Regions from separate parts of the Homo sapiens genome. Here all the other regions are linked to region 1. Evidence: promoter capture Hi-C in 16 types of primary human blood cells and fetal thymus (Javierre and others, 2016). All regions are on one chromosome and are shown on one strand. Each heading gives the region's core, a stretch centred on a gene start or on the middle of the fragment in contact. The rest is flanking DNA. Distances are from core to core; before and after follow the strand shown.

What was found. Contacts are between HindIII fragments. The CHiCAGO score rates a contact against its expected background, and 5 or more counts as called.
Region 2: a contact is called between a fragment that was not itself captured here and the fragment with the promoter of KNOP1 in region 1, in 1 of 17 cell types (total CD8 T cells). The highest score is 6.6, in total CD8 T cells.
Region 3: a fragment that was not itself captured here is called in contact with the fragment with the promoter of KNOP1 in region 1 in 1 of 17 cell types (fetal thymus); the score reaches 6.0 in fetal thymus.
Region 4: a fragment that was not itself captured here is called in contact with the fragment with the promoter of KNOP1 in region 1 in 3 of 17 cell types (activated CD4 T cells, naive CD4 T cells and total CD4 T cells); the score reaches 5.8 in activated CD4 T cells.
Region 5: a contact is called between a fragment that was not itself captured here and the fragment with the promoter of KNOP1 in region 1, in 3 of 17 cell types (total CD8 T cells, naive CD4 T cells and activated CD4 T cells). The highest score is 5.5, in total CD8 T cells.
Region 6: a fragment that was not itself captured here is called in contact with the fragment with the promoter of KNOP1 in region 1 in 3 of 17 cell types (endothelial precursors, naive CD4 T cells and total CD4 T cells); the score reaches 9.6 in endothelial precursors.
Region 7: a contact is called between a fragment that was not itself captured here and the fragment with the promoter of KNOP1 in region 1, in 1 of 17 cell types (naive CD8 T cells). The highest score is 7.4, in naive CD8 T cells.

What each region holds. Positions count from the first base shown.
Region 1 is chr16:19,716,489-19,720,223 of GRCh38, reverse strand. KNOP1 (lysine rich nucleolar protein 1) reads left to right here and starts at 1,997. Exons shown (of 5, transcript NM_001012991.3): 1 at 1,997-2,066. IQCK (IQ motif containing K) reads right to left here and starts at 1,953. Exons shown (of 9, transcript NM_153208.3): 1 at 1,737-1,953. The coding sequence starts at 1,917. RefSeq lists an enhancer at 1,744-2,073. The HindIII fragment of the contact is 12,693 bases long and covers 1-3,735 here.
Region 2 is chr16:19,504,089-19,508,255 of GRCh38, reverse strand. GDE1 (glycerophosphodiester phosphodiesterase 1) reads left to right here. Exons shown (of 6, transcript NM_016641.4): 4 at 477-569; 5 at 3,164-3,375. Among named protein-coding and RNA genes, the nearest start is that of GDE1, 16 kb to the left of the region's middle. The HindIII fragment of the contact is 1,381 bases long and covers 2,104-3,484 here.
Region 3 is chr16:19,538,426-19,542,651 of GRCh38, reverse strand. CCP110 (centriolar coiled-coil protein 110) reads right to left here. Exons shown (of 14, transcript NM_001323572.2): 5 at 1,865-1,995; 6 at 588-765; 7 at 1-31. Among named protein-coding and RNA genes, the nearest start is that of VPS35L, 15 kb to the left of the region's middle. The HindIII fragment of the contact is 798 bases long and covers 1,631-2,428 here.
Region 4 is chr16:19,890,454-19,894,324 of GRCh38, reverse strand. No RefSeq gene overlaps it. Among named protein-coding and RNA genes, the nearest start is that of GPRC5B, 7.5 kb to the right of the region's middle. The HindIII fragment of the contact is 1,524 bases long and covers 663-2,186 here.
Region 5 is chr16:19,587,941-19,592,217 of GRCh38, reverse strand. It overlaps VPS35L (VPS35 endosomal protein sorting factor like), which reads right to left. Exons shown (of 31, transcript NM_020314.7): 8 at 344-428. Among named protein-coding and RNA genes, the nearest start is that of VPS35L, 34 kb to the right of the region's middle. The HindIII fragment of the contact is 837 bases long and covers 2,604-3,440 here.
Region 6 is chr16:19,857,683-19,861,675 of GRCh38, reverse strand. It overlaps GPRC5B (G protein-coupled receptor class C group 5 member B), which reads left to right. Exons shown (of 4, transcript NM_016235.3): 4 at 1,132-3,993. The coding sequence ends at 1,176. It overlaps IQCK (IQ motif containing K), which reads right to left. Exons shown (of 9, transcript NM_153208.3): 9 at 3,209-3,993. Among named protein-coding and RNA genes, the nearest start is that of GPRC5B, 25 kb to the left of the region's middle. RefSeq lists enhancers at 436-1,017, 2,291-3,490. The HindIII fragment of the contact is 6,338 bases long and covers 1-3,993 here.
Region 7 is chr16:19,570,519-19,574,386 of GRCh38, reverse strand. It overlaps VPS35L (VPS35 endosomal protein sorting factor like), which reads right to left. Exons shown (of 31, transcript NM_020314.7): 4 at 1,146-1,268. Among named protein-coding and RNA genes, the nearest start is that of VPS35L, 17 kb to the right of the region's middle. The HindIII fragment of the contact is 6,290 bases long and covers 1-3,868 here.

The DNA.
Region 1 (3,735 bases), core at 748-3,247:
TCTAGCACAATGTAAGGTTGGAGAAGGAATTTAAGTACTGGATGGGGTTGAAACAGACAGCTTTGGAGGGCATCTATCAACTGAGTCTACTATTCTCTTCCTTCTCTGTATTCTCCACTTCTTTCGAGTCATCGCATATACTGGTACATTCATTCTTTTTTTCCATTCAATAAACATTTACTGACCTGCACTATCCAATACAGCAGCCACTATCCAAATGTGGCTATTTAAATTTATTAAAATTAAGTCTGGGCTGGGCCTGGTGGCTCAGGCCTGTAATTGTAGCACTTTGGGAGGCCGAGGCAGGTAGATCACCTGAGGTCAGGAGTTCAAGAGCAGCCTGGCCAAAATGGTGAAACCCCTTCTCTACAAAAATAAAAAAATTAGCCAGGAATGATGACGGGTGCCTGTAATCCCAGCTACTCAGGAGATTGAGGTGTGAGAATGCTTGAACCCGGGAGGCGGAGGTTGCAGTGAGCCCAGCCAGTGCCACTGCATTCCAGCCTGGGCGACAGAGCAACATGCCGTCTCAAAAAAAAAAAAAAAAAAAAAATTTGAGTCCAACAAGAAATTCAGTTACTCAATTGCACTAATCACATTTCAAATGCTAACTAACCACACTTTTTTTTTTTTGGGGATGGAGTCTCGCTCTGTCACCCAGGCTGGAGTGCAGTGGCGCAAACTCGGCTCACTGCAACGCCACCTCCCTGGTTCAAGCAATTCCCTTTCCTCAGCCTCCCAAGTAGCTGAGATTATAGGCGCACACCACCACGCCCAGATAATTTTTTTTTTGTATTTTCAGTAGAGACGGGGTTTCACCGCGCTGTTTCAGGCAGCTTAGGTAGTGATGGTGGCCACACGAATGAAAAATCTGAGTCCTTGACCTTGAGGAGCTTATGGTCTAGTGGAGGAAAAAGAAAACATCCCACCCAACATTATTCATTAAGAACTAGCGCTTACGTAGCTCCTTCTGTAAATCGAGCAGTTTGTGTTTTTTTTTCCCCAATAATCCTTTTGCCCTCCTAAAATCAGGCAGTTTGCTAAGCACTTTTTGTGACTATCTGGTTCCATCTTCTTAACACCATCGAAATAGGTGCCATTATTATGCCCACTTTGCAGACAGGGTCATAAGTTAAATAATTTGCCCAACCTAAGTAACAAATACTGAGTAGAGCCACAAAGGAAGATGTGCTCAACTCCGCCTGGGGAGGTTAAGGAAGGTTTGAAGCAAGAAGGGACTAAAACCCGTTTGTCCACACCATGGTTACTGAACGTGTGGGCCACCGACTACCTACGTTAGGATTACCTGGGGTGCTCTTTTAAAAAGTGCAGATTCCCTGCATCCCAATTTGAAGCTCTGTGGGCGGGGCCTGGGAACCTCCGTTTATAACAAGATCCCCACCCCGGCCCCCGCCCCAGCAATTCCTTTCGGTTCACTAACCGAGGTTTAAGAACCAATGGTCCACACCGCATGGTTCTCTTTATTCAGCTTTCCCTCGCCGTTCCCTTGCCTTTAACCTCACTACGGATCGCGATTGGAGTCCGCGCTGCGTAACCTCGGGCCAGCCTCTCCGAGCCTCAGTTTCCCCATGCGTAAAATGCGGAGCCCGGGCCCGCGGAGCCGCTGCCCGGCGGCCCCGCCCGTCAGCCGACAGGCGCACAGTGGGCGCTCCCCAAACGCGGCCCCCGTCCGGCCGCCCGGGTCCCGCCCCTCTCGGCCAGCCCAGGTTTCCTACCCTTGCAGATCTGCTCCCACAGATTCTTGCTTGACGGCTCGGTGACCTGCCACGACGAGACAGGCAGCTCGCGGGACGCGAGAGACACGGTGGGCACCGGCGTCCGGGTGAACGACGAGTCTGTAGAGCAGCTGGGCTTGAGGCGCACTATGTGGCTGGGGATTTGCCGCGGTGCCGCCATGGCCGCGGTTTCCACGGTAACCGCGTTCGCCGGAAGGCCGCGACCCGGAAGAAGCCGGAACCCGAGAGGGTGGGCCGGCGACTCGAAGTGGACTTCCGGGTCACGGCGGAGCTGGCTCTCACGTGGAGGCGGGGAAATTTCGCCCACCGGTGAGTGCCAGGGCGCGTTGCAGGCGGGCCGGCGCGGGGTGTGGAGATTGCACCAGAGGAAGTGCGCGGCGGGGAAGATGGGGAAATGCGGTCCACCCACATCCCTGAATCCGACCCCTCCAGTCGGTGTGCGCCCGCTCCGGCCTGAGGCCGCCGCCTCCAGAAAGTTTTCCCGCCTCAGAGCCGGCCCTGGGACCCCACGTAATCCCTCCCAGTCTGTTGATGCGGAGGCTTGGGCCCATGGGAGCCTTGGAGGTACGGATCTTACTTCCTGGCTCCCGCGCGTCCTGCTGGTGATCCTGCCGGGGGAGTGGGGTGTTGCTGCACAGGCTTTGGAGTCCTGTGGGCGGAATTCCAGTCTCCGTTTTCCACTTGCTGGCTTTGGAACCTAGGGCAAGTGAATTATTGTAGTCTCTGGAGCTTGCGAGGTCGGGTATTCACAAAGATCTTCACAAGGCTGTCCCTGGAATTTAAAAGCGGTTTTGGAGAAAGCGTTTGCGTTTGCAGGAGATGCACTGTAACGTTCTTTTCCTTTCTCCTTGAAAGAGTGAATGCATTTGGTCGCAGGGCTAAAGAGGAGGATGCTATACTTTTCTAAATGGCAAGAGATGGGGAGAGAAGGGGATTAAGAGTTGACCCGCAACCTCCCGGTGGATTCTTTGTTCTTACCAGATCTCTTGGCCACTCCCCTATTCTGAAGTCGTCTTGGCTCTCTTGACTGCTCCCCTATTCTGAAGTCGTCTTGGCTCTCTTGACTGCTCCCCTATTCTGAAGTCGTCTTGGCTCTCCTGACTACACTATTTCAAGGTTTGCACCTTCTTCTTTGCAAGCTCCTTTATCTCTGCCCACTTATTTAAATGCCAATACAATAGTCCCCCTCCCCCATTATCCGCGGGCAGTACGTTCCTAAACCCCCAGTGGATGCCTGAAACCACAGACAGTACCGAACCCTAAATATAACTGTTTTTTCTTGTGTATACTATCTATGAGAAAGTTTATAAATTAGGCACAGTAGGGCCGGGCGTGGTGGCTCATGCCTGTAATCCCAGCACTTTGGGAGGATGAGGCGGGCGGATCACCTGAGGCCAGTAGTTGGAGACCAGCCTGGCCAACATAGTAAAACCCCGTCCCTACTAAAAATACAAAAATTAGCCGGGCGTGGTGGTATGTGCCTGTAATCCCGGCTACTCGGGAGGCTGAGGCGTGAAAATTGCTTGAACCCGGGAGGTGGAGGTTGCAGTGAGCCGAGATGATGCCACTGCACTCCAGCCTGGGCAACAGAGCCAGACCTTGTCTCACAAAAAATTAGGTGCAGTAAACGATTACCAACAATCTAGCTAGTAATAAAATAGAACAATTACAACAGTATACTGTAATAAAAGTTGCATGCATGTGGTCTCCCTCTCAAGATAACTTCCTGTACTGTGCTCACCTATTTTGGGACCAGGGTTGACCAGGGGTAACGGAAACCTGGGATTAGGTGGCGAGCTACTGTATTTCTTGAAGTCTTGTCTCAGGCTTGTTCTGTTCAAGGCTTATCACCACCCATACATTCCTAACTTTATGTCGCCCGTGTCAGCACGGCCACCCAAACTCCTCATCCATATATATTCACCTGTCCAGTGAACATCTCCAAGTCATCTGTCCAATCAAGCCTGTTCTTCAGCCA
Region 2 (4,167 bases), core at 1,545-4,044, 210 kb after region 1:
CCTCCATATTGGTGATGGGTAATGCGTCCTCTCAGTCCCCTGGACTGAGAAATCTATCCTCTGTAGTTCCCAGACTGGCTGGCTCATGTTTCATTTAGAAAAGGCACAGAGTGATAGAGCTGTGGGTATGAAAGGACTTTTCATAGTGGCTAAACTAGGGTATAAGGCAAGGAAAATTTTGCCTCTGGCCTCATCTGACCTACGGCTTACCACACTTTTCAAAAGTATTCCAAAAGGGGTGAGGCCCTCAGAGGGAGTAAAGCAGCAGTACTCCACCTTCTTCCTTGTTTGCTGCTGGTGTGAGTTTAAAATGCATCCCAGTGGATAATAGACTCTACCAATACTTTCAGTACCTCCATTTCTAGTAAACTTCTGTTTTATTCCATAGGGTTGTACTTAATATGTGATAGTTATTGGCTGGGGCTATCTATCACATTTTAATCAATTTTAAATATATGAATCTCTTTATTTTACAGGCTACTGAGGCTCTAAAGAAAATGTATATGGAATTTCCTCAACTGTATAATAATAGTGTGGTCTGTTCTTTCTTGCCAGAAGTTATCTACAAGGTAACATTCGGGATTTTTCTTGTACATATTAGGTGAGCTGGTGTAGATAATTGCAATGGGCTGCGTAAGCACAGGATAGATGCCTATTAAATTGAACTGCATCAGGGTCACAGTTGAGAAGCTCCTCTTTTAAATTAACCAGAGAAATTCCAGAAGGGGAATGTACTCATACCCCTTACAGAATGCCATTATTCCTCTTTTGCCCCTTCTTTTATGTTGTTTATAGGCTCACTCAGATTACTGTAGTAAAATTCTCACAACAGAAAAGAATTATGTAGCCCCTACTTCTCACCAACTAACAGCAGAACATACCTTCATAAAATAAATTCTTAATTATGGAGAATCTAAAACATGCATAAAATAAAGTAGTAGTGTACCCCCCCTTTAACTGTGATCCAGCTCATTTCACCCATAACCCCATTGATCCTCCCCAGTGTTATTTTGAAGCAAATCTTATTCCATCCATAAAATTGCATTAAGAATCTTTAAAAAGTGATGCCATTTTATTTATTTATTTATTTATTTATTTATTTATTTATTTATTTTAAAAGACGGGTTCTCCCTCAGTTTCCCAGGCTGGAGTGCAGTGGTGTGATCACAGCTCACTGCACTCTTGACCTTCCAGGCTCAAATGATCCTCCTGCCTCAGCCTTCCAAGTAGCTGGGACCACAGGCGCACGTCACCACGCCCAGCTAATTTTTTATTTTTATTTTTTGTAGAGACAGGGTCTCCCTGTATTACCCAGGCAGTTCTCCAACTCCTAAGCTCAAGCAATCCTTCCACCTCAGCCTCTCAAAGTGCTGGGATTACAGGCATGAGCCACAGTAACCAGCCTAGTGATGCCTTTTTAAAAACATAGCCACAATGCCATTGTCCCATCTAAAAATTATTAACAATAAATTATTCATATCATCAAATATCCAGTGTATAAATTTTGACTTGTCTCGGAAATGTCATAAATGGTTGTTTTTCATAAATTGCTCATTCGAATAGGACCCAAGTAAGATCGGCGTGTTACAATCGTAAATCTTTTTTTGTTTGTTTTTGAGACGGAGTCTTGCTCTGTCGCCCAGTGGTATGATCTCGGCTCATCGCAACCTCTGCCTCCCGGGTTCAAGCAATTCTCTTGCCTCAGCCTCCTGAGTAGCTGGGATTACAAGCACACACCACCATGCCTGGCTAATTTTTTTTGTATTTTAGTAGAGACGGGGTTTTGCCATGTTGGCCAGGCTGGTCTCGAGCTCCTGACCTCAGGTGATCTGCCTGCCTCGGCCTCCCAAAATGATTACAGGTGTGAGCCACTATGCCCTGCCGGCAACTGTAAATCTTAAAACTTGCAGGTTCTGTCTCTCTCTCTCTCTGTTTTTTTTGTTTGTTTGTTTTGGGGGGGGTCCTTGTTTTGTATTTACTGAAGAAACCGGATTATTGTTTTGTAGAGTTTACCCAAGTCCAAATTTTGCTGATTATGCCATGATATGGCTTAATATTTTTTTCTCTTTATTTTCTATAAACTGGTAGCGAGAGCTGGAAGCTTGCCTTGATGAGGTTAGGGTTGGTTATTCTTGGCAAGATAACTCTAGAGATGAGGGTGTTTTTCCGTCAGGAGGCACTTGACATCTGGTTGACTCCTGTTGTTTTTGGCTGCTATTGATGCTCATTGGCCAGATCTGTCCATTTTCTAGGGAGCTACAAAATGCTGATATTTTAATTCTATTACTTCTTGCATTAGCTGAAATAGATCTTTAAAAAGAAACTTTTCCTCCTCTACTATTTAGTTACCAAATAGGCAGAATAAATGCTTTATCTTTCCTTTTATTTACCAGTTTCCAGAATAACAAGCTGGTTCCGTAGCATTCTTTACCAGTGACCAACAGAGCATACATTGAAAATTTTTACAGTGAGGATAGAGCCTATCAATAGAAGCTGTCATGGAGTTGAATAGGGTCATGGGGCTTGCAGACATTTGGAACAGTGTTTCCCAAACTTCCTTGACCACAGAGTCCTTTAAAACGTATAAGACATTCCCCCAGAGGAGCACAAGAGCAGAGACTAAAGGAACTCCATCCACATCTCTCCATTTCTCTGTTGTCCTCTCCCATTCTCTCGTCACAATCCCTTCTCTCCCTTCCCACCTCACTTCCCCATCCCCCTCCTCACCCCTACAACTCTTCAGCCATTTGCTCTGGAAAGGGTCAAAACTAAACAGCCCATCTTGAACTGACCTTGGTTCCCTCCTCATTGAGTTCTAATTAATTATCTCTGGCCAGGATTTAAGTCAATAGCCAATTAAAAGTTTATTCTCATGACATTATTAAAATTTGATCCTGAAGTTTTAATTTTTCCATTTTAAAGATAGGATTGCAGTTTTTAAGGACTGGGAAAAAAAAGTTCTCATATGTGCTGCATATTAGTGCTTTACATTCTTCACATTATTTTCTCAAAGGGTTTATGATTGAGAACTTATTTAGTAGATACCGGGGCAGGGTACCAACCATGACCACCTCATCTGATTGAGCACATTGGCTAAATCTAAACTAATAAGTATTCAACTTTACATATGATCATTATTTTACTTCCCCAAATTCCTTTGCAGATGAGACAAACAGATCGGGATGTAATAACAGCATTAACTCACAGACCTTGGAGCCTAAGCCATACAGGAGATGGGAAACCACGCTATGATACTTTCTGGAAACATTTTATATTTGTTATGATGGACATTTTGCTCGATTGGAGCATGCATAATATCTTGTGGTACCTGTGTGGAATTTCAGCTTTCCTCATGCAAAAGGATTTTGTATCCCCGTAAGTTGGAAGGTTTTTTATTTTACCCAGACAGACATCCTGAATGCTCTTATTTGAAAGGAAGGATTAACAGAGTAGACAACCTGAATTGGTTCTGACCTGCAAAGCTTACCATACCTCTAAATTGGATTACCAATTTCGCTTCTTAGGTGGGAAGAGTTCAGGCATATTTCACTGTTTTCAGACCGAGTCGATCACATATTTTCGGTTTTTTAGTGTATTTTGAAGAAAAAAAATGAACCTGTGACACTATGCTGAGCAAGGGATTTTATTTCTGTGACTGGTTTTTTTGAAAGCCAACACAGGATCCTGGGCAGAACCACAGTGAAGACATCCTGTGGGCACCAGCCTCCCCACTACCGTCTTATGTTATAGGCACTCCCCCACCTCTCCCCATAAAATTTCCATTTCCTAACCTGCTAGCGATCTCGGAATCATTTCTTTGGCAATTCTGTATCTGTATATTTCAGCTAATTAGAGTTGTAGGTCTAGTATTATTTCAGACATACATGATTCAGTTCAATAAATATTTGGTAAGTGCCTATACTATTGCAAGGTTCCATGTTGAGAAGCTGAAGATGCAGTGGGTAAAGAATCAAAGCCATGATCTCTGCCCTCGTGACGTTTATAGCCAAGTGGGAGAGTGAGAGATGCTAATCAAATAAAAATCCAATCAATATAAAGTTAAAACTAAGATACAGGCTATGTCAGAGAAAACTGTGCATGGGCTATAATCTAATCTGGTCTGGGTTGTCAGAAACAGCATCCCCAAGGAAGTGACAGTTAAGCTAA
Region 3 (4,226 bases), core at 780-3,279, 180 kb after region 1:
AAGCTATATTGCATGGCAGAATTTGTGAAACCTAGAGAAACATACATATAGTATTATACTTGATGTCATATAATTAGAATACGAAGAACATCCCAATAAACACTTGTGACACTCATTAAGAATAACAACTGCCTCCAAAAATGACCTACCTGCCGACTTAAAATATTTATGGACTTTAAAGCTTACATACCAGGTGGATCTTTTCAACACAAACAGCATCTCAGGATAATTGAGATATGAAGATAAGCTATTTAAAGGGACTAGGGAATTAGAGGTAATTCAAGATCACTCAGGAGAGAGCAAACTGTTTTCACTTGAAGTATATCACCTGCTGCATGAATGATCAGACTGGGCTCTAAGCCAAATTTCCTGATCTTTTCCTGGCAAAGGTAATCTTTGTTCACAAACATCTGCTCACAAGTCTTTGATCTCCTATCATGTCATTTTTCACTGGTTACTAAGCAGCTGGCAAAGAGGGTTGGACATGGAATCATTTGAAAACAGGAGATATAATCTTATAGTGTGCCAAATAAATATCTTACCGTAGGATCACTTTCCCAAATGTAAAAGGATTTTTAAATATTTACCAGAACTATTTGAATTTGAAGTATGGAGTGAGTCCGCTTGAGACAGCATTGTTTCCAGCAAACTAGAGTCACTTATTTTTCTCCATTCTAATTCCACTGCATTGTTAATGTCCAACTCAGAGGCTTCCGCTGTCATTGCCTTCTTCTCTTTTAACATTTTCTCCTGCTCTTCTATTTCCTATACATGAACAGTTTATTGTAACATGCTAAACCTTTTAATTATGTCCCAAAATGATATCATTTTAGGCTTAGCCAAAAGTACATGTAATTATCAGCAATTATTATTTATTTCAAGTTTTTCTTCCTCAAATTATCCTTCCTTCCTTCTCCCTTCCCTTCCCTTCCCTCCCTCCCTCTTTTCTTTTCTTTCCTTCCTTCCTTTCTCTCTCTCTCTCTCTCTCTCTCTCTCTCTCTCCTCTCTCTCTCTTTCTTGTTTCAAGAAACAGAATCTCGCTCTGTCCCCCAGGCTGGAGTGCAGTGGCACGATCTCGGTTCACTGCAATCTCCACCTTGCGGGTTCAAGTGATTCTCCTGCCTCAGTTTCCCAAGTAGCTGGGACTACAGGTCCATACACCACCATTTTGTATTTTTTAGTAGAGATGGGATTTCACTATATGTTGGCCAGGCTGGTCTCAAACTCCTGACCTCAGGTGATCCATCCACCTCGGCCTCCCAAAGTGCTGGGATTACAGGCGTGAGCCACCACGCCCAGGCTATAATTTAATATGTGATAATGTATAGTTAAATTATTAATTATAATAATATTATAACAAGTGTCGTTCTTTTTTTTTTTCTTTTTATAGAGACAGGGTCTCCCTCTGTTGCCCAGGCTGGAGTGCAGTGGCTAGACAAAGGCGAAATCATAGCTCACTGCAGCCTTGAATTTCTGGGCTCAAGCAATCCTCCCACCTCAGCCTCCTGCATAGCTGGGACTACAGGCTCATGATACCACGCCCAGCATGAGTGTCATTTTTATGATACAACTCCTGCAGAATGTGTACTTTAGCACCTATTTATAAAATACCTTTTTAAAATATTAAGCTTTAAATCAAGGATTCAATAAAATATTCTCGATAAATTATGCAATTACTTTTAGATAAGGATCTAAATATCAAAATTCATATTTTGACAAAAAATACCATTCACGTATCAAAATGACTCCCTTACCTTAAGATATATGGAGGCAAAAATTACACGTATTCTATACATGACCAAAATTCATAGGTATCCTTGGCTAAATTTCACTTACCAGTTGTATCTCCCTCCACATTCCTCACCTTTTGCAGTCTTTCTTGTTCCCTTTCCTGCTCAGCTATGAGTAGTGATAATTGCTGGGCGTGCTGTTCTTCTAGTCTCTTCCGCATTTCTTCAAAAGCTAACATCTTGCTTTTTAGTAACTCCTCGCTTTCTGAAAAGAAACATGTTTCCTCAATTTAGAAAATTCACAAGTCTAATGTCTGATATTTTATACCATCAATTTAAATTATCCTTCTGACAAGAGAGTATTCCTGGATCTGACATAATACAATCAAGATATAGCTGGGTCTCTACTTCGAACCACACTCCTTTTATTTCATGCTACTCAATAAAGTAAGACCTGTATTGCATCACCTTTACCCACTCATTCAACAGATCCCATCCTGATCTGAAATGACAGACCCAGGACTATATATTCAGACAAGATTCTCCTGACTCTACTTAACTTTCAGATGTGGTCCTCAACTGCATCCTACCATCATTTGTTTTTTTGACACTTGTCCTCCAGGATCTCTGGTAGTGTAGCTTGTAGTTTTGCCTTGTTTTGATTTTCAAAGAAAGTGTTTCCTTGATGGTATAAAGCTTTCTCAGCTTGAGGTTTCAAAAAGGACTGGACGTTAAAATTCCAGATATTTAGTTACTAACTAAGAGAAAACATTATGACAATACAAGCTTCCTAAATAGAATGTGGTAAGACATGTTGAAATGTACAAATACCAAGTATGGGCCAGGTGTGGTGGCTCACGTCTGTAATCCCAGTACTTTGGGAGGCCAAGGCAGGTGGATCACTTGAGGTCAGGAGTTCGAGACCAGCATGACCAACATGGTGAAACCGAATCTCTACTGAAAAAATACAAGCGCATGCCTGTAATCTCAGCTACTTGGGAGGCTGAAGCAGGAGAATCGCTTGAACCTGGGAGGCGGAGGTTGCAGTGAGCTGAGATCGCACCATTGCACTCCAGCCTGGGCAACAAGAGTGAAACTCCATCTCAAAAAAAAAAAAAAGAAATTTCCACTCTGTTGGTCTTATGTACTTCTGATATTCACTGAGGCAGCCTCTTGCCTTGCTATGCTATCTACTTGGAGGATCCAAGTTGGCTCCCCAGGTAACAGTGGTTGTTTTTATTAGAGCTCTTATAAAGTTGCACAGGATGGGCCAGGGCTGGTGGCTCAAACCTGTAATCCCAGCACTTTGGGAGGCCAAGGAGGGCTGATCACCTGAGCCTAGGAGTTCGAGACCAGCCTGGCCAACATGGTGAAACCCTGTCTCCACAAAAAATATAACAGCTGGGCGTGGTGGCGCATGCCTGTAAATCTCAGCTACTTGGAAGGCTGAGGCAGGAGAATCGCTTGAACCCAGGCCTACAGTGAACTGAGATCGCACCACAGCAATCTAGCCTGGGTGACGGAGCAAGACCCTGTCTCAAAAAAAAAAAATTAAAAAAAAAAAAAGTTGCACAGGTTTTAAGCAGTCTGACCCAACCCTGTATTTCCCATAAGCCCTAAGAGCTTAACTTACTTGATTTGTATGTCTTCTATATCAGTAATAAAGAATTATCAACAATGACAACAAAGTAAGGGGTAATGAAGGAGAAAAACGTGCTTTAATAAATTGCTGTTAATGGATACAACAGAAAAAACTGAAATAATAATTTTTATTAATTAAGAACCTTTATTATTATTATTTTTTTTTTTTGAGATGGAATCTGGCTCTGTCACCCAGGCTGGAGTGCAATGGTGCAATCTCGGCTCACTGCAACCTCCGCCTCCTGGGTTCATCCAATTCTCCTGCCTCAGCCTCCCAAGTAGCTGGGATTAAAGATGTGCACCACTACGCCCAGCTAATTTTTGTATTTTTAGTAGAGACGGGGTTTCGCCATGTTTGTCAGTTTGGTCTCGAACTCCTGACCTCAAGTGATCCACCCACCTCGGCCTCCCAAAGTGCTGGGATTACAGGCGTAAGCAACCGCGCCGGCCTAAAGAACCGTTCTTGAACCACCTACTCAGAGCCTTATTTCTGATACTTTGTCTAATAATTTGATGTTAAAGTGTTTACTGAAGGACCAATTACACGAAGCTCATACTACAAATGAAAAAGCAAACTGAAATAAACATTAGAAACTATAGTCCAAAAGAAAGACCTCATAGCAATACAGTGAATTAAAACTGTAAGTGATGTTTCAGGCAAGACTGTTTGGGGCTGGGTGCGGTGGCTCATGCCTGTAATTCCAGCACTTTGGGAGGCTGAGGCGGGTGGATCGCTTGAGGCCAGGAGCTTGAGAGCAGCCTGGCCAACATGGCAAAACCACATCTCTACTAAAAATATAAAAATTAGCTGGGCCAGGTGGTAAGCACCTGTAATCCCAGCTACTCTGGAGGCTG
Region 4 (3,871 bases), core at 175-2,674, 170 kb before region 1:
TTTGGAGAGATGGTTCTAAATAATTGTTCCTTGAGTGGTGGTTTTCAATCTTCATGGTCTTGGGACACTTTCACACTCTTCAAACTGATAAATTGGTGGAAGACCCCCAAAGAGCTTCTGTTTAGGTATATGCCAATACTTTATATCCCGCTTCAGACAGAGTCAGTGCCCAGTAGAGATTAAGAGCTATTGTTCTTATTTAAAAGGACTTGGAGGCCAGGCATGGTGACTCACACCTGTAATCCCAGCACTTTAGGAGGCCAAGACCAGTGGATTGCTTGAGGTCAGAAGTTCAAGACCAACCTGGCCAACATGGTGAAACTCAGTCTGTACTAAAAATACAAAAAATTAGCCAGGTGTGGTGGTGCACACCTGTAATCCTAACTACTCAGGAGGCTGAGGCACAAGAATCACTTGAACCTGAGAGGAGGTGGAGTTTGCAGTGAGCTGAGATCACGCCACTGCCCTCCAGCCTGGGTGACCCAGTGAGAGTCCATCTCAAAAAACTAAATAAATAAATAAAATTAAAGGACTTGGAGGAGGTAATATTAGTAGGTAAGTACCGAGTAAATACCTACCAATATTCACCCTATTTCAAATTAAAGCCAAGGAAATTTAAAAATATTCATACAATAAACCTATTACATGTTAACATAAAAGCTTTTTTATGAAGAATAACTGTATTTTCTAAAGGAAAAAGCCATTAGTGTCAGGCCTCTGAGCCCAAGCTAATCCACTGTATCCCCTGCGACCTGCACCTATATGTCCAGATGGCCTGAAGCAAGTAAAGAATCACAAAAGAAGTGAAAATGGCCGGTTCCTGCCTTAACTGATGACATTCTACCATTGTGATTTGTTCCTGCCCCACCTTAACTGAGCGATTAACCTTGTGAAATTCCTTCTCCTGGCCACCTTGTGACCCCCGCCCCTGCCTGCCAAAGAACAACCCCCTTTGACTAATTTTCCTTTACCTACCCAAACCCTATAAAATGGCCCCACCCCTATCTCCCTTCACTGACTCTTTTCGGACTCAGCCCGCCTACACCCAGGTGATTAAAAAGTTTTACTGCTCACACAAAGCCTGTTTGGTGGTCTTTCACATGGACGTGCGTGAAAATTAGTGAGAAGCACAGCAATAGTTTACATTTTTGAGAACCTCCGAAATATCTGACTTAATAGAGGACAGCGGGACTGTCACGCCTGCTCCCGCCATCGGCCTGTTGCAACATCACATCTCCAAAAGCCACTGGGAAACTCCACTGTACACTCGTGAGAGAATGACGGTAAAAGCGGAAAATAAGGTCTTAGTGCTATTATGCAAACAGTTTTGATCCTGCAGACCTCCAGAGAGGTTCTCTGGACAACACTTCAAGAACCACTTGGTACATTGAGGAAAGAGAGTAGAAAGAAACAGGCATATTTTCATGTTTTCACCGCATTCGTACTCACCAAAGGAATAACGAGTAACTGGAGATCAGGTTTGCTTTCTTGATCCAAATCTCCTTCAAGCCCTTTTAAATTAAAACCACAACACCTGACCCCTCCCGGGCACTGGCTGAGTCCAGTTGGTTGCGTCTCACTCAGCTCTAACAGGTGGAGACTATTAAGAGCCCTTCATCTCACAGATGCAGAAACCAAGATGCAGAAAAACTAAGTGATTTCTCTAAGATGACATGGCCACCCGGAGATTCTATCCTCAGTGTTTCTGACATCTCCTCCCACCCTGTTTAGCAATGGTCTGAGCCTGCTTCAGCCTCCAGACCCAGTGATTCTCACTTAATTGAATTGGTCCAGGAGAGGACCCAGGCACCTAATTTTTTTTTTTTTTTTTTTTTTTTTGACTCAGGTGATTCTCATGAGCAGCCAGGACTGAGAAGAACTGGGCCAAGGTCTTGCCACTGAGAGTGAGGTCCTGGGTCTGACAGCCCAGCTGGGAGCTTTTGGGGGTACGAATCCTCTCCCACCCTCTGAACCAGAGTGTTCATGTGGACAAGAGCCTGGTGATTTGGAAGTACATCACAGTGTCATAAGGAAAAACTAAGAGAAAGTGAAGCTGATCAGAGGATTCCTGCCCGGGGGTAAAACAGCAGGATGGGGCAGTGGTTACAGCCTGGGCTCTGGGGCTGGCACATCCAGGCCCTGCCTCCACCCTTTCTCTTAAAGTGGATCCCACATCACTCTAAGCTTCATAACCGAGTAAAGATAAATGGTCCAACATTTCTTAAACCTCCACCAGGAAGTTCATAGACGCCTATAAATAAATAACCTAGAATTGCAACCATTCAAATCATTCTTTGTTTTACATAGGGGTAGAGGCTTGAGTTTGTCTTTGGGGGGGACAGACAGTTCCTTTGTTTTGGGGACACAGCAAGGGAACTTCTAGTAGTGAAATGACAAAGCAGAAACCTTTTTTTGTTGTTGTTGTTTTAGACCGAGTCTCACTCTGTTGCCGAGGCTGGAGCGCAGTGGCGTGATCTCGGCTCACTGCAACCTCTGCCTCTCAGGTTCAAGCGATTCTCCTGCCTCAGCCTCCATTGTAGCTGGGATTACAGGCATGTGACACCATGCCCAGCTAATTTTTTTGTATTTGTAGTAGAGACAGGGTTTCACCATGTTGGCCACGCTGGTCTCGAACTCCTGACCTCAGGCTATCTGCCCACCTCGGCCTCCCAAAGGGTAAAGCAGAAACCTTCTATGAAGATAGAGAGCTGCTTCTGTGACAGATTTGCGTCAGGAGAAAAGGAGGGGAGGGGAGAAGGGAAAGGGGCCACACACTTTCTATCTGGCCCTGGGATTGGGTTTGATCCCCCTGAGATAGTGGTGACTCAGAAGCTCAGAAGCTACCCTTACAGGTGGCTGGGTAGGGCAGTGGACATGTGTGCCACCAGCTCAAGCCCCTGCTCCTTCAACTCTCAGGAAGGTCACTTGGGGCAGACACTGAGGTTTCCTGCCTCAAGCACCTTTCCCTCACCCTCCTTCTTTACTGAGTCTCTTGGTGCCAAGAGCTCACTTCTCAGCCTCCTTTGTACTAGGGGAAGCGAGGTGATTCAGTTCTGACCAAGGAAATATAAGGGTAATTCTGCACCTGGGGTGAGAAGTAGGGCAGTTCTAGGAATGATTTTCTTTCTGATTAACAGGGAGACTCACAAGAAGAGCTCTCTTCCCTGGACAGCTTCTTTCCCATACTGGAGATTGTCAAGTGAAGATGTGATGTTTGGTGCCATGGCAGCTATCTTGTGACCATGAGGTCCCAAGCAGAGGACAGCTGATCAGAAGACTACTAGAAAGACACTGGGCCCCTGTTTACATTGTTGAGCAATGGACCAACTGTGAGATCACTCACATCCCGACTTATTGTTGTGTGATAACAAACATCCCTATTGTGTAGGCCGTAACAATTGTCCTGCTGCTTAAATGTTTCCTGACAGCTTTGGGGGCTTTGGGAGAGTGTCCCCATGGCAGCCTTGCAGGGGACCAATGGGGCCATGATGAGGCTACTCCAAGCAATCTTGCGTACTCACAGACAAGAACCTGTAGGAAGAGAGGGTGGCAGTCACATTTTGACTGCAACTGACACACTGGTTTGTGGATGTCTATGGGGACACCCCATTGGGGACTCCCAGAAACAACTGAAGAGCACTTTGCCACTGTGAATGAATTTTCTTTTCTTTTTTCTTTTCTTTTCTTTTCTTTCTTTCTTTCTTTCTTTTTTTTTTTTTTTTTTTTTGACAAGGTCTTGCTCTGTCACTCAGGCTGGAATGCAGTGGTGTGATCACAGCTCACTGCAGCCTCAACCTCCTAGACTCAAACAACCCTCCCACCTCAGCCTCCAGAGTAGCTGGGACTACAGGCACATGCTACCACACCTGGT
Region 5 (4,277 bases), core at 1,773-4,272, 130 kb after region 1:
CTGTAGCCCCAGCTACTCAGGAGGCTGAGGCAGGAAGACGGCTTGAGCCCAGGGGTTTGAGGCTGCAGTGAGCCATGACTGCGCCACTGCCCTCCAGTCTGGATAACAGAGCAAGACCCTGACTCAAAAAAAAAAAGAAGAAAAAATAAAATTTTAGAAATTTTAGAATGTTTCAAAAATAGCGCCCTTATTAATGGGCGTGGGGGGGAACGGTTTGATCTCTCCCATGACTTACTTAATAACTTAAACCACAGCAGAACCTAATTTACAGTAACTCTACCACCCAATTCTTGACAAAACGAACACATTTCCTAGATCTAAGATGCATATGACAGGTACTTACCAAATGTATCAAGTATGTCGGTGATAAGGACAAATTTGCTTGGGTAGAACTGAATAACACTGGTGTCTGAAAGAAGCTTTGAACACTAAAAAAAGAGAAAAAAAGAGAAAATTCACTCTGGCATGTCTGGTATGGGTAGGACACTCCAGATCTGAAAAATTAATGGTTTCTATATACAAGTTGAGATACTTACTATGTGCCAAGGCCTGTGCGAGGTGCTGAGCATACAATGACAAGCTAAACCACTGTGCTTTTCACAGAGAGAGCCGGACTCTGCTTACAACAGAACCTCTTCTTTGTTTTCCCTTCCTTTTTTTTTTTTGTAGAGATGGGGTCTCGCTATGTTGCCCAGGTTGGCCTTAAACTCCCAACCTCAAGTGATCCTCCCACCTCAGCCTCCCAAAGTGCTGGAATTACAGGCGTGAGCCACCGCACCCGGCCCATAACAGTCTCTTAAGAAAATACACTATCACCTTCTTCAGGAAAGCCTTATCCAAAAGGATCCTGCTTGTATACTGAACCAGGAAGCACTCAAAATCACTGAGAGAAGTGAATGACATCTCTCTCATCACAGTCCTCATCTGTGGCCCCATCTTTGTTCAATTGCTTTGCAGACTGGCTTCTTCTGTTGATTTCAGGGTGATCAGCATCCTTAAACATTCTTTTCTAAGAAATGACCCCATAAGTAAATCCCCAAGGCTTCATAAACTCACACTGATTATTTATACTCAGTCCCAAATTCCCCCCAAAAGGAACATAAGCTTCAGTGAATACATGTTACTCTGGAAATATGACCTTCAATGCTGAAAACATTTCAGCTTTGCGGGGAATTGCTGAATTCTACATTCTCATTCATGCCAAAGGGTCACAGCCATGTTCAGGACTATTTAATTTTTTTAAATTTTATTATTATTTTATTAGAGATAAGGTCTTGCTCTGTCGCTCGGGCTGGAGTGCATTGGTGCAATCATAGCTTACTGCAGCAATGAACTCCTGGGCTCAAGCAATCCTCCTGCCTCAGCCTCCCGAGTAGCTGGGACTACAGGTATGTACCACCATGGTTGGCTAATTTTTTTTCTTTAATTTTATGTAGAGGCAGGTTCTCACTATGTTGCTCAGGCTGGTCTTGAACTCCTGACCTCAAGCAATCCTCCCACCTCAGCCTCCCAAAGTGCTGGAAATACAGGTATGAGCCACTGCACCCGGCCAACATGTTCAGAACTCTTTTTTTGAGTACTCGTCTGCTATTTAGCGTTCAGGACTTTTAATGGAAGACCGCAGTCACACAATGTGGCCCCAAACACCTTTGATTATCTTTTATCATCAGAAACAGAAAAGCTCTTTCTACTTTGAAGAACTAAATTTAATGCCATGCCCTGAAGACTTTACAAATTCAAAAGTCAGCATAAGGAATTAAATAACTGCCACACTTCATCACCTCAATGGTTGACCCTCAGAAAGAAAAATGTCATTTAAAAATTAAAAAAAAGATGTTCAGACATTTAGAAAGGATTATTTAATATGCAATTCCAATATGCAGAGAATGGTGAGAACGTTCACCATGTCAAGAGATAGGTTGACATGTGTTTTCAGTTTGGTGTTGTTACCCAACATCTAAATTGTTAGAGTCACCAAGTTTCTCCATAGCATTACAGGCCTAAAAGTAAACAACGTGTCTGATTTGCGAAACATCCCCTTACAGCCCAAATGTTATTTGTGGGGGGGGGGGGGGGGGCGGGGCGGGAATGTAAGCTGTAAAAACAATAGTGCTGACACCAAACGTGGCAACTGGATGTATGTGGAATTCCATTTCCTGACACCTCGCTCTGCGATTTTCATATGCCCTTTGTGAGAGTTCCAACTTAAACAGCTGCCCCCATGAGATTTCAAGGCTGGAAAAAGCTAACAACTCCAAATCTCAGAGACTGTTTACAATACACAGTTCTCGGTTCCTAGGGATGTGACATCTCTGAGTTCTACCCAGAGCTGGGCTTGGACAGTCTCTCAGAGATGAGTTACTGCCCACTGGTGAGGTGAGAGAGAGAGAATTTAAACAGAGGATTTCAAATTAAACACAGCTGGGGCTTCCCAAACATCTGTGCATTGATTTTCTCCCAAGCTGGTTTCATAGAACATATATTTTATAAAGGACAACAGGAATAAGATTTTGTTTTTAATCCAAAGTTAAAGCTATAATGATCTTATAAATTGAAGTTACTTTTTAAATTACTGTTTTGAAGATGCCACAGTTTTTAAAGCTTTGGTGCCGCTTCCTAAACTTGTCTGATAAGAATCAGGTAACCCAGGTATGTGTTAACAATACAAATCCCAGCTGGGCATGGTGGCTCATGCCTGTAATCCCAGCACTTTGGGAGGCTGAGGCAGGAAGATCGCCTGGGCCCAGGAGTTTAAGACCAGCTTGGGCAATGTAGTGAGACCCCAGTTTCTACAAAAAATACAAAAATTATCCAGGCATGGTGGTGTGTGCCTGTAGCCCTAACTACTCAGGAGGCTGAGGTGGGAGAATCACTTGAGCGAGGGAAGCAGAAGTTGCAGTGAGCCGAGACCGCCCCACTGCACTCCAGTCTGGAAGACAGAGCAAGAATCTGTCTCAGAAAAAAGGTTAAAAAAATTTGAATAGCCACAACAAATGCATACATTCAAAGATGACCTGAGTAGGAAGGAAAGAAGTAGACCATTACTATCCAGAATACATCTTAAAAATTGCAAAACTCAGTACGAAAAACACAGATAACAAAATGGAAAAATGGGCAAAAGAAATCAGCAAAGGTCATTTTACAGAAAAGGAAACCCCAAAGGCCTATAAATATGTGAAAAGATGCTCATTTTTATTAGTAATCGAGGAACTGCAAATTAAAACCACAAGAAAATATGACTGGAAAAATTAAAATAGAAAATCTGCTCATACCAAATGGTGGTAGAATGTTGAATAGCACAGACTCTCACACGCCCACATACTACTACAAGCGTATGCTGGCACAGCTACTATGGAAAATAACTTAGCATTATCTGGAAAAGCTGAAGAGGCACAGAGCAGTTCTACTCTTAGGTATAGGCTCTTATCTAGAGAAAAGCTTTACATGGGCACCAGCAGACGTGACCAAACGTGCTCACAGTGACATTGTCCATGTAGTGAAAAAAGAACAGAGCCAGATGCTCATCAACAGATGGCAAAATTTATGCATCAGAAAATGATTTCATACTCAATGCAATACCTGTCAGAATCCCAGAAGGTTTTTTTTATTTTGTAAAAATTGACAAGCTGATCCTAAAATTCATACAGAAATGCAAAGGGCCCAGAACAGTGAAAATAATTTAAAAAAAGAAGAAGAAAAAAAAAGTTAAAAGACTTACACCACCCAGGCCAGGCGTGGTGGCTCATGCCTTAATCCCAGCACTTTGCGGGGGGCAAGGTGGGTGGATCACCTGAGGTCAGGAGTTTGAATTGAGACCAGCCTGGCCAACACGGTGAAACCCCATCTCTACTAAAAATACAAAAATCAGCCGGGCATGGTGGCAGATGCCCGTAATCCAAGCTACTCGGGAGGCTGAGGTGGGAGAATCGCTTGAATCTGGGAGGTGAAGGTTTCAGTGAGCCGAGCCAAGATGATGCCACTGCACTCCAGCCTGGACAACAGAGCAAGACTCTGTCTCAATAAATAAATACATACATACATACATACATACATACATACTTATATTACCCAGTTTCAAACTTGCTATAATGCCATAGTAATCAAAACAATGTGGAACTGGCCAGGCGCAGTGGCTCATGCCTTTAATCCCAGCACTTTGGGAGGCCGAGGTGGGTGGATCACTCGAGGTCAGGAGTTCGAGACCACCCTGGCCAACATGGTGAAACCCCACCTCTACTAAAAATACAAAAATTAGCTAGGTGTGGTGGTGCACACCT
Region 6 (3,993 bases), core at 554-3,053, 140 kb before region 1:
TTCTACCCCTTTTCTCCACACACAGAATACCCACCTCTATTTAGAAAACCATCTGTAGATTCGTTTGAAAGAGTTTGTAATCCTTGAGGCTGTTGGACCCAGTGAATTATTTGGCTTTCACTCTGTCCCTGGGAGGTGACTTTTGGAAAAAGCCCAGAATGATGGAGCGCCCCTAGCAGATTTTGCTGACATCCAGCCTAGTTTAAGGTCCCCGGTCACCCCTCTGTTGACTCCTCCCCAGCTGGGTACCAGGTTCTCCCATTCCCTAAGAGATGTCTTAAGAAATTGAAGCAGTTACTGTTTCTCTCCCTCAAACACAGAAGCAGGTTTACTACTATCTGATGCCAAACAGACCTTCAGCAGAATTGTCATTGTTTACGTTTGCCTCCTTGGAATGACACCATTTTGTTTCTCCAGCAATCCAAAGATGCACTCTCATCTCCACATTTAATTTCCAAACATAGCTACATGCTTCTTTCAGAAACAAGGTCTGAGCCAGTTTACATGTGTAAATTGGGTTTCCATTCTTTATATCATGTTCCAACTCCATAACTCAACCTGAGCATTCTTCTTTTTTTTTTTTTTTTTATGTAAATCAGGGATGGTCTTTGATCTCTAGAGGGAATTTAGGTTTTCCTGGCCTTTTGAATGGTATGCTAGGCATTGGTTTGCATTGGTTTGGAACAGGCTCAAAGACAGAATCACAGATTTGCATTCTTAAAACCCCCTGCCAACGACTGGGCTGTTTTATTGTCCCGAGCCAAGAAAAGCCTGATTCACAAGCATTCGGCCTGTGTGTTATAATAAATATGCTTAGAAAAGCCCCCATCCGTCACTCTTAAGCCCTCCTGGTTCCTTCAAGGCCAGTGTGTGAAAAAATAGTCAAGACTGAAAGTGAATGAGTTGAACTTACATTCCTTACGGGTGGATGGTTATAGAAAAGGGAGCTGGGCTTCCCAAGAACCACAGCAGCATGACTCACAGTCATTGCTGCCTCTCCTGGGAATTATTCGACCCATCTAGGTAAAAGCAAGGTAACTTATTTTTGCCGCGTTGTTTACGCATCGGTTTCTAGTGTTGACTTTGCAAAGCACAGAGTTCTCAGTGTGTTATCCTTATGTGTTATTCCAGATCCCAACTGCTCCGCCAAGTCACACAGGAAGACACCTTTGGTGAAAGACTTTAAGTTCCAGAGAATCAGAATTTCTCTTACCGATTTGCCTCCCTGGCTGTGTCTTTCTTGAGGGAGAAATCGGTAACAGTTGCCGAACCAGGCCGCCTCACAGCCAGGAAATTTGGAAATCCTAGCCAAGGGGATTTCGTGTAAATGTGAACACTGACGAACTGAAAAGCTAACACCGACTGCCCGCCCCTCCCCTGCCACACACACAGACACGTAATACCAGACCAACCTCAATCCCCGCAAACTAAAGCAAAGCTAATTGCAAATAGTATTAGGCTCACTGGAAAATGTGGCTGGGAAGACTGTTTCATCCTCTGGGGGTAGAACAGAACCAAATTCACAGCTGGTGGGCCAGACTGGTGTTGGTTGGAGGTGGGGGGCTCCCACTCTTATCACCTCTCCCCAGCAAGTGCTGGACCCCAGGTAGCCTCTTGGAGATGACCGTTGCGTTGAGGACAAATGGGGACTTTGCCACCGGCTTGCCTGGTGGTTTGCACATTTCAGGGGGGTCAGGAGAGTTAAGGAGGTTGTGGGTGGGATTCCAAGGTGAGGCCCAACTGAATCGTGGGGTGAGCTTTATAGCCAGTAGAGGTGGAGGGACCCTGGCATGTGCCAAAGAAGAGGCCCTCTGGGTGATGAAGTGACCATCACATTTGGAAAGTGATCAACCACTGTTCCTTCTATGGGGCTCTTGCTCTAGTGTCTATGGTGAGAACACAGGCCCCGCCCCTTCCCTTGTAGAGCCATAGAAATATTCTGGCTTGGGGCAGCAGTCCCTTCTTCCCTTGATCATCTCGCCCTGTTCCTACACTTACGGGTGTATCTCCAAATCCTCTCCCAATTTTATTCCCTTATTCATTTCAAGAGCTCCAATGGGGTCTCCAGCTGAAAGCCCCTCCGGGAGGCAGGTTGGAAGGCAGGCACCACGGCAGGTTTTCCGCGATGATGTCACCTAGCAGGGCTTCAGGGGTTCCCACTAGGATGCAGAGATGACCTCTCGCTGCCTCACAAGCAGTGACACCTCGGGTCCTTTCCGTTGCTATGGTGAAAATTCCTGGATGGAATGGATCACATGAGGGTTTCTTGTTGCTTTTGGAGGGTGTGGGGGATATTTTGTTTTGGTTTTTCTGCAGGTTCCATGAAAACAGCCCTTTTCCAAGCCCATTGTTTCTGTCATGGTTTCCATCTGTCCTGAGCAAGTCATTCCTTTGTTATTTAGCATTTCGAACATCTCGGCCATTCAAAGCCCCCATGTTCTCTGCACTGTTTGGCCAGCATAACCTCTAGCATCGATTCAAAGCAGAGTTTTAACCTGACGGCATGGAATGTATAAATGAGGGTGGGTCCTTCTGCAGATACTCTAATCACTACATTGCTTTTTCTATAAAACTACCCATAAGCCTTTAACCTTTAAAGAAAAATGAAAAAGGTTAGTGTTTGGGGGCCGGGGGAGGACTGACCGCTTCATAAGCCAGTACGTCTGAGCTGAGTATGTTTCAATAAACCTTTTGATATTTCTCAAGGCCCTAGTCTCTGCTGTCTCCCCTCCCCACCCCATCCTTGCAAAGCACTGGGGAAAGTAAGGCCAATCTGGCCCTCCCTGTGTGACCCGCCTTCGAGTTTTCCTTAACAGTTAGTACATTTCCTTGTGTTACCACGCATGGGGAAGAAAACGCATGGCCCCAGAATGCCACCCCCACCTGACCTCCCCGGAAGCACCCCGCCTCTGCCCAGAGCATGTGCTTGCTTCTAGAGAATCCCGTTCCAGTCATTGCGTGGACAGAAAACGTAAGAGTCCTGGGGAGGGGTGGGAGGGAATGAAGCTAGGACCTGGGGTGGGGGTGGGGGCGGTTGCATGCGGACCCGGTATTCTGAAAAGAAAGAAATCTTCAAACACCTCGGTCCTGTCCGGTGAAAAAACGACAGCATTACACATTCTCGTGCCAGGAAATGGTTACTCACCCCCGCTCTCTGGAGTCCTTTGGAGCTTTCTGATACCATTCACACGATGGAGCAATTCACACGTTCGTTTTCTAAGTTCTTTATTGTCCAAGCATATAAGGTGAGCACAGCACAAATGGCTGCCATGGAAAGTCGTGCTTCCCCAGCATAAGAACAGAGCCATCTTTGAGCCATGGGAAGCCTCATTTAATGAGACCTTTTTCCCCCCTTTTAAATCTGATATGTTATCGCACTTAGGGTTTTGTTTTATTTTGGCTTTTAAGGTTGAGAGTGGGCTGAACGCCTTCATAATGGGGGCGGAGGCGGGAGTGAGAGGAGAAGGGAGAGAGCTGTTCTTTTTCTAATGACTACACCTGAAAAGTATCAAGAGACATCTTTGCCAAGAGACTGTAGCAGCCAGCTGCCCCCCGTGGAGCAAGGTTTAAAGACAAAATTAAATGGCACCTCTGTTTAAGATCTGCGTGTGTAAACAAGACTCGTTTGGGGAAAACGACCCGGGAGGAGAGCATCTGTGATCAAAATCTCTCATTGTAAGCACAAATTGTTCCGTGTCTGGTTATTAAAATCGCTTTGGGTCTATAACAGCCACTCTTGTCCCCCCTTTTAATAGAAAATTGTCATTCTAGCCTGGATTTCTCCCCACTGGAGGTGGAGGGTGGGAAGAGAAGGGAGTCAGCTCTGACAGCTTACAAACTGGGAAGTTCTGTGCATCTCCAGGGATTCCAGAGTTGAAGATCTGGTTGTTGGAAGCTGGGCGCCCAGTGCTTTTTTTTTTTTTTTTTTTTAGCCCAGATGCCGTCAGGACCCACTGAACAAGGGTGAACTCGGGTGGTGGTCTCGGTTGGCCA
Region 7 (3,868 bases), core at 62-2,561, 150 kb after region 1:
CTTCAAGACAAATGTAACTAAAAGTGTTGCGGGACCCCAAGAAGTCTTCCTAAATGGGAGGGGGCGCATCTTTCTTTCCCTTTCCTCCCTCTGTCTACCAACATGAATGTGAGGCAACACTCAACACAGCCGAGGAGCAAGAAAGAATGCGGCGGAACCCTGATGCCCTCGGAGCTGCCAAACCAGCCCTGGACTCCTCTCCTCGAGACTTTTCTCCAGCGTAAGGAGGGATACAGGTCACTCTTGTTTACAATGTTAGCAGGGGCTTTAGTTCTAAGCAACTGAACCCAGTCCTAACTCACACAGGCATTAACCTGACTGGGTTGGTCTCAGCTCTCCTGAGTCTTTCCTTCCACAGCAATTTGCCAAGTGAAGGGTAAGCCTCGAATTTCGTAAGTGTCTTGAGGCCAAAGCCAACTACTTCACCTAATGGCCATCCAGAGAAATAGTAAATTTCCAGCTCCAGGGGAAAACCCAGCTATATGGGACTTACTGAGTGACACCTTTCTCCTCCAGTGTTGTGCTCTCCTCCCTTAATTCATTTTTTAAATTAATTAATTAATTAATTTTTTTTGAGATAGGGTCTCACTCTGTCACCAAGGCTGGAGTGCAGTGGCGTGATCTCTGCGCAATGTAACCTCCACTTCCCGGGTTCAAGCAATTCTCATGCCTCAACCTCCTGAGTAGCTAGGATTACAGGTGCCCGCCACCACGCCTGGCTAATTTTTTTAGTAGAGATGGGGTTTCACTATGTTGGCCAGGCTGGTCTCGAACTCCTGACCTCAAGTGATCTGCCCACCTTGGCCTCCCAAAGTGCTGGGATAACAGGCGTGAGCCACCGTGCCCGACCTCCTCCCTTCATAATTCAAACCTCCTCCCAAAGACAAGACTCTGCTGTTCTAATTCTTTCTCTGGCCTGTGCCACATCCCTGATCCTTAACATTTTTTTTTGGGAAACCTGTCAGCACATTTTTCTGCCAACAACACTGACATACTACATGAAGCCTTATATGTGAGCTTTTAAGAGAAGTAGAAAAATAAATAAATAAGTGAAACTTACAGAGCCCAGGAGTTGAAGCAACATAACAAAAAGAAATTACTACTAACTCCAAAGTAGACTCTGGAGAGGGTCTCCTGGTACTCACAATAGACAGCTTTTCGGTAGTGGTGTACCGGGCAAGGATTTCTCCCCGTTTGTTGGTCCAAGGCTCAAAATCCGATCCTACAACGGAGTTATCATCTCTATCACGTTTCCTTCTGGAGCTGTCCTAAAGAAAGGCAAGATAATCTCTTCAGCAGCAATATCATTTTGATCTTTAAATATATACATATATAAATAGAAGCCAGATAGTCCTTTACTGTGGAATAAAAGAGATTTGTCTCAAGGTTTACTATCATAAAAAAAATTACAGCGCCAGGCATGGTGCCTCACGCCTGTAATCCCAGCACTTTGGGAGGCCAAGGTGGACGGATCACTTAAGGGCGGGGGTTTAACACCAGCCTAGCCAACATGGTAAAACCCCATCTCTACTAAAAATACAAAAATTAGCCAGGTGCATGCCTGTAGTCCCAGCTACTCAGGAGGCTGAGGCAGGACAATCGCTTGAACCTGGAAGGCAGAGGTTGCAGTAAGCCAAGATTGTACCACTGCACTCCAGTCTGAGTGACAGAGCAAGACTCCATCTCAAAAAAAAAATTCAGACCATTTCATCATAAATGGACAATAAACATATCAAAAAATGCTCAAACTCATTAAGAATTAAGGAAAGGATAGTTGGAAAAGACCACTTTTTCAACTATCAGAATGTCAAAGAGTTAAAATGCTGGCTGATGTCAGGCTGGCAAGGATGCAGGGAAACAGACCCTCTTCAACATCACTGGTGGAAATGCAGACTGGTTAACTCTTTTTGGAGGACAATTTGGTGATAGCCATCAAAACCTTAAATACACATTGCCTTATGCCAGCAAAGAGATGGAGTCTCGCTCTGTTGCCCAGGCTGGAGTGCAGTGACGTGATCTCTACTCACTGCAATCTCCGCATCCCAGGTTCAAGTGATTCTCCTGTCTCAGCCTCCCGAGTAGCTGGGATTACAGGTGCCCGCCACCACACCTGGCTAATTTTTGTATTTTTAGTAGAGATGGTGTTTCACCACGTTGGTCCGGCTGGTCTCGAATTCCTGACCTCATGATCCGCCCGCCTCAGCCTTCCAAAGTGCTGGGATTACAGGCGTGACCCACTGCGCCTGGCCAACCAGCAAAGAACTTCTAGGAAGCTATCCTGCAGAAATCCTTGCAGACATGCACCAAGATGTGTGTGTGTTCGAGACACATGCTGCACTGCTGTTTGTACCAGCAAAACCCAGAAACTATCTGGGATATCCTCCATCTGATGGATACATCAGTAGAGGAATGGTAAATTAAAATAGGTAAATCCAGTCTTTAGAATACCATACGGCTGGTCAAAATAATAAGGTTGTTCTAAATGTACTAACATGGATAGTTCTCCAAGACATATGGTCAAGTTAAAAAAAAAAAAAAAGTTGGCTGGGCGGCATGGCTCAAACTTGTAATCCCAGCACTTTGGGAGGCCAATGTGGGCAGATCACCTGAGGTTAGGAGTTCGAGACCAGCCTGGCCAATGTGACGAAACCTTGTCTCTACAAAAAATACAAAAATTAGCCAGGTGTGGTGGCACATGCCTGTAATCCCAGCTACTAGGTAGGCTGAGGCAGGAGAATCACTTGAACCCAGGAGACAGAGGTCACAGTGAGCCAAGATCGCGCCACTGCACTCCAGCCTGGGCAACAGAATGAGACTCCGTCTCAAAAAAATAAAATAAAATAAAATAAAATAAATTAAAAAAAAAAGTTGTGGGGTGCAGTGGCTCAGGCCTGTAATCCCAGCAACTCTGGTAGGCCAAGGCAGGAGGATTGCTTGTGCCCAGGAGTTTGAGACCAGCTTTGGCAACACAGTGAGACCCCAACTCTACCAAAAAATCCAAAATTAGCTGAGTGCGGTGGCACACACCTGAAGTCCCAGCTGCTCGAGAGGCTGAGGCAGGGGGATTGTTCGAGCCCAGGACTTTAAGGCTGCAGCGAGCTATGATCATGCCACTGCAGTCCAGCCTAGGCAAAAGAGCAAGACTATCTCCAAAAAAACAAGTCACAAAACAGCAGTTCCATTTATGTAACAATGGTAAATAATATATGAAACACAGGCCGGGCACAGTGGCTTACGCCTGTAATTGCAGCACTTTGGGAGGCCGAGGTGGGTGGATCACGAGGTCAGGCGTTCGAGACCAGCCTGGCCAATATAGTGAAACCCCGTCTCTACTAAAATACAAAAATTAGCTGGGCATGGTGGCACGTGCCTGTAGTCCCAGCCACTCGGAAGGCTGAGGCAGGAGAATCGCTTGAACCTGGGAGGTGGAGGCTGCGAGTCGAGATCACCCCACTTCACACCGGCCCGGGTGACAGTGTGAGACTTCATCTCAAAAATATATATATATATATATATATATATATATATATATATATATATATATATATATATGAAACACAGCATAGGATGATGATCGAGAGCATGTATTCTGAAGTCAGACTGGCCAGGTTTGAATCCCAGCTTGGATGTGACTTGTTATCTCTATCCCTCCATGGCTGCCTCTTTAATGAGGATTCCAATACCTCTCACAAGGTAGTAAGAGAACCAAATACAAAACGCACTCCGGAAAAATGCCTGCCATGCAGTAAGTTGATGCTGTAATTATTTATATATGAGTACGTATGGGAATGCTCAGAAACTGCTATCGCAAGTATCTATGAAAATACAGGGGAAAAGCTATGGAAGAAGACACATTACAGCCATCATT